Linked DNA regions of Homo sapiens: region 1 is linked to region 2. The links are contacts of gene promoters, found by promoter capture Hi-C in human tissues and cell types (Jung and others, 2019). All regions are on one chromosome and are shown on one strand. The core of a region is centred on a gene start or on the middle of the fragment in contact, and the rest is flanking DNA. Distances in the headings are between cores, read along the strand shown.

Evidence for each region. The method cuts DNA at HindIII sites, captures the fragments that hold promoters and counts their contacts. A contact is called where the count stands out against the background at its distance.
Region 1: a fragment that was not itself captured here is called in contact with the fragment with the promoter of SLC5A8 in region 2 in 2 of the 25 tissues and cell types used here (aorta and mesenchymal stem cells).

Annotation. Positions count from the first base shown.
Region 1 is chr12:101,126,582-101,129,281 of GRCh38, reverse strand. It overlaps ANO4 (anoctamin 4), which reads right to left. Exons shown (of 28, transcript NM_001286615.2): 27 at 2,208-2,403; 28 at 653-1,421. The coding sequence ends at 2,212. Among named protein-coding and RNA genes, the nearest start is that of SLC5A8, 82 kb to the left of the region's middle. The HindIII fragment of the contact is 4,776 bases long and covers 1-2,700 here.
Region 2 is chr12:101,208,838-101,211,537 of GRCh38, reverse strand. SLC5A8 (solute carrier family 5 member 8) reads left to right here and starts at 1,300. Exons shown (of 15, transcript NM_145913.5): 1 at 1,300-2,040. The coding sequence starts at 1,690. The HindIII fragment of the contact is 10,158 bases long and covers 1-2,700 here.

The DNA of each region.
Region 1 (2,700 bases), core at 83-2,582, 82 kb after region 2:
CCCGGGTTCATGCCATTCTCCTGACTCAGCCTCCCTAGTAGCTGGGACTACAGGCACCCACCACCACGCCCAGCTAATTTTTTTGTATTTTTAGTAGAGACAGGGTTTCACCGTGTTAGCCAGGATCGTCTCAATCTCCTGACTTCGTGATCCACCCGCCTCGGCCTCCCAAAGTGCTGGAATTATAGGCGTGAGCCACCGTGCCCGGCTATATACTACATTTTCTTTATCCACTCCTTGGTTGATGGGCACTTAGGTTGGTTCTGTATTTTTGCAATTGTTAATTGCAGACAACTGAGGTTTTAATGAAGATTATAGTGTTGAAGTAGGATATTTCTAATATTCTAGTCTTATGAGGACTTATAAAATTGGGTAGATTATCAAATCCTCAAATTACGGCATATTCATTTTGGCTTATATTTAAAATATTCCACCATCAAGACTGGGGAAAAAAGTTCATCAGAAACATACGCTGATATTTGGCTATATTGTTTGTTTTTGCATGCATTTATGCAATAAACAAACATCTGATTTCTTGCACAGTCCCTCAGATATTCTCCTCACATTAAAGATTCCACTTACTTATTCTGTGATTTCTCTTATTCTATGAGACAAAAATACAACAGAATGTCAGAAGAGCCAGCTGAAAATATTCCATGTGCAGAAATTTATTTTAAATTTTATTGCATCACATTATACAAGCATTAATCATGGCTTCATATTGATGACTATTTAAATGTGAAAATTCACTCATGTCAGTACTTTTTGGCTATTTACAAGTAAGGAATTTCTATGTACTTTATATATCTCTGTATTTGTATGTACATATGCAGGAATACATGACTATACATATGTACACACAGAAATACATCTATGGCCATACACATAGCTATAGATATGTCATATATAATAATCTTCTCAGAAAGGTCTAAAATTAAAAAAAAGGAAAGAAAAAGTTGTAAACAGGGTCTTGTCTGTGTTGTTGGTGACATGGAATTAGGACCATATGATGACATTCTAGGAATGTGTGTCCATGTGTCTGAATACCCTTTTTAGCCCAGTGTCTGTAAAATTCACATGGGATAGAATGCAAAAAAGGTAGCAAACAGGCTGAAAAACAGGCCCAGTATACAAGTTCCCCTTGATTTTAAAAACTTGAGAATGTAACTGCCCATAATGTGCATGCTTGCTTGGTCAAGAATGGTCTATGGATAGATAGCAATTGTGCGCTGGACTGCAACGTGATTTCACAGCAGTGTGACTCCAACGCCAGTCCTCTACTGGATGCTGCCCCTCCTGCGGCCGCCGGTATCTGCAACATGCACTGTGGTTGCATTTTTAGTCATTCACTTGAGTGTGCTTTTGCACAGCCAGAAGAAGTAAACAGAATTCAGGTCCTTGGCCTGGAAAGGGACTATTTTCTGGAAAGAGAAAAGAAGGCATAAAGATCTTATGCATACACAATTGCTTTAAAACATGAGGTGCAATAGTTTGTACTTACCATGCACCAAAGGCATTCAAAGAATTTGTAACCCCAAATGGAGTCAGGGATGGTATAAACATTTTTATGCTTGCTTTATGGGTGAACAGACTGAGTCAGAAGGGCAGTCTAAAGCAACATCACATCCTGCCAACTATTGGGGAAATAGAAACAGGCAGGCAGATACTATGCTTTCAAGCAAAAATTAGAAATGGCCTTTTTGGGAAGAAAGCAGCCAGTAGTGGTGGGGCCAGAAGAAATTCTTCATCAGTTACTGGTCCTGCAGCCCAGGACAGCCCTGTTGCACCTTGGTCTCTGGCCGCTGAGGCTTTCAGGAAGAATTCTCTTTGCTAATGTCTGCCTCCCACCCACCTAGAAAGAAGGGGCATGTTTCCCTGGGGATATTAAAGAAAACAGCCCGGCTGGAGGAAAAGAGAGAGGACGCTTTGTTTCAGGGAACTCCTAGGCCAATTCATGAAGACCTTGACTGATAGGCCAGAGTCTGGCAAGAAGGCAGAGAAGTGTTGCAGAAGGTATGTGGGAGGGGAAGATCAAGCAAAATTTGCAACGATTAAAGTAAAAAACAAGCTTCTTTTGGATTGGGAAGCTTCTAAGGAGTTTATTTTGATCCCTGTTACTGCAACAATGGTAAGCTTTGCTTCAGGGAGTTTAAAGCACCCATTCAACCTCGGAATGGCCTCAGACGCTGAGCACACCTCTCACCTACATGGTCACGGCCACTCGTTGTGGTGTGCTTTTCCATTCTTCTTCCTCTCCTTTCGTTCCTTCTGGAGACGTTCCAGTTCTGCTTCATACATCATCTCCTGAATCAAGTACTTCTCTCTTCTCATTCGATCCCTTAGGTCTTTTGGGAGGTCTGGGATCAGATATGAAATGAGGTGCTTTATACAAAACACGAGGTGCTAAAACAGAGGAGAATGTAACAGCGTCAGGTCTACTGTGCATCCTGAATGAGGTTAGAGAGTTGGCTGAAGAAGGATGTGGACCCTCTGGGGTATGTGGAGAGTGCAAAGTGACCAGGGGAGGCGTGTGTAATGCAAGATGATAGGACAGGTGAGGCCTGAACTGGTCTGATGGCACCACCTAAGGAATAGAAAGAGGAGTCTGGAAGGAAGGTGGGAAAAGAATGGTCAGATAATTAATTCAAAGGAGAGCCAGAAGAATGTATTCTGTGGAGTCAGAAAACCCAGGTTGAAGCT
Region 2 (2,700 bases), core at 51-2,550:
ACTCTAGGTGTCCAAAAGAAGATGAATTTTGTTTAGATAGCATTTTCCCATATCTAGGGCTGTTGGCTTTAAAGAAGTTCCCAGAAGTGAATCCAATTCCCAGAAGGATCAAGGTGGATTCTTTTGTGTGTTACTCTAACAGGTTGCTTTATATATATATATAAGTTATATAATATACACATATAATTTATGTATTATATATAAGTATGTATAACATCATATGTAATATATAAATATAGTACATTTCACACTGGTAGGACGTAATTCCAAACCACATATTTGTTTAACCAATTGAATTACTTGGATTTAGTTTCTATTTCCCTCTTTATTTCCTTCTGAAAATATTATACAAATAACATCAGTTTACAAAAAATAAAATCTGATATAGCTTTTTTATCATACACTAGGCTAGACTAAATGCATTCTGTGGATTGTTTACCTAGGACCAGATGGTATATTATAAAGTTGTATACAAATGAACAAGGACTGCCTGAAATGGATTGATAGCTGAGCACATTTGGCTGGAGCGTCTATTTTAGAAGGAAAACCTGAGAATCATATTATTTGAGTGTGATTCATGTGTTAATAGTATTTCAAGACAAGCCACTTAAAATATGTCCTGAGTGGTGATGCTGGAAATGATCTTTTCTTCAGTGTTTTCAAGTGTCTTCATTTAAGTGTACACATTTTGCCTACCTATAACACGTATCTACACATTGTGATTAAGAGAGCAAACTCTGAAATCAGACCTAGATTAAAGATCTTAATCTCTGCCAGTTGATTGGGCAAGTGACTTAATCATTCGACAGTAATTTCTGCATTTGAAAATGCCTATCTCAAGGGTAATGAGAATTACACTGGTTCACCAAAAGAATTACACTGACTAATATAAAACGTGCCAAGCATGTATGTGTCACATGAAGGCTCATTAAAAAGCGGATATTATTGTTAATCTTCCAATAACTACTATTTCCAACAACAGGCTGAAGGGGCTCAGAAACGTTTGTTGAGTAAAAACACAAGGAAACAGTAGCACAGATTTCCTGCTCTCCTTTACGATCGATGACCTGTCTAAGGACTGTGATCTCTGTTCACTACAGATTGTCACCTGCATTAATCTACTGTCACCCATTAACCTATCAAATAAGGCAGTCTAAAAACTCCAGGCGTCCCTTTCCGTAAGGACCCGGACTGTTGAACTGGAAAGCTAAAATTCAAGGCGTGACAATTGCCCTTTGTCCCACATTCCTCCACCGGTCGCCTGCTTATTTAAATGGTGCGTCCCCTCGGGTACCACTTGAACAAAACCTGCCCAGAGCGCTCCCTGTGTAGATTCGCTGGAAGCAGCTGGAGGCTCCAGTTCTCATCTGCTCAGGTGTCCCCGGCGCCTTGGCGAACTCGGCCACTCCAGTTCCTCACGTGGTGAGCACTCAGGGCAGCGGGTCGATTTTCCGAGGTCCCATACCTGGGTTTGAGGGGCGCGGCTCGCAGCGGCGGGTGCAGGGGCGACTGCCAGCCCTCACCCCGCCTCGGGGTGCGTTCGGAGGCCGACACCTGGAGGACGCCTCCAGTCCCCGCGGGACGCCACGCCTGCGCGCCAGGGATCCGGGATAAGAAGTGCGCGCCGGGCTCCGGCTGCGCGCCGCGGGGCCACCAGTTTGCGCGCAGGGCTCAGGCGACCGTGCGGCCATGGACACGCCACGGGGCATCGGCACCTTCGTGGTGTGGGACTACGTGGTGTTCGCGGGCATGCTGGTCATCTCGGCCGCCATCGGCATCTACTACGCCTTCGCTGGGGGCGGCCAGCAGACCTCCAAGGACTTCCTGATGGGCGGCCGCAGAATGACCGCAGTGCCCGTGGCGCTGTCCCTCACCGCTAGCTTCATGTCAGCCGTCACTGTCCTGGGCACCCCCTCCGAGGTCTACCGTTTTGGGGCCATTTTTAGCATCTTTGCCTTCACCTACTTCTTTGTGGTGGTCATCAGCGCGGAGGTCTTCCTCCCGGTGTTCTACAAACTGGGAATTACCAGCACCTACGAGGTAAGGGGCAGGGTGGGCTGGGACCATGCAGGGCGCGGGGGAAGGGGACTCTGCAGACCTCTGGAGGCGTTTTCTTGGGGGCAGACTGTCACTGCCACATCGAAATCTCTCCCCGTCCATCGTCATCATCACCCTCCCTTCACTCCTCCCCGTCCCCCGATCTTCACCTGGCATCTTTCCCTTCTACTGAGAGGCGTCCTCTAAGGGTGAAAAAATTCTTGGGATTTACTCTCCTGGGCTTAGTGAAAAAAAGAGGCTTCCAAAGTGAACGGATTGCAACAGTAGTGCTCGCTATGGTCCTTTCTACCTTTAGCATCTTTGATTCCCAGGCAAGGGGAAAGATTTTTGGGGAAGGTAAGTTCTTCAGGTCTCAGGCCCTGCTTCTTGAAAGGAATACTCTTGTTCCAGGTCCTCAGCCCCATTCACTCTTCCAAGATAGTTGGTAAAGAATTTGTACTCCCCTTCCTTCCCCTTCCACACCCACCCCCTTTCCACTGAAACAGGCACCCAAGTGGCTAAGGTGTACCAGTACCTGTATTTCGGACCAGATTCTACCACTTACTAGCTGGGTGACCTTGGGTGACTTACCCAACCTTTTGTGCCTATTCCTCAAAAATAAAATAATATCACCTACCTCATCCAGTTGGGAGGATTAAATGA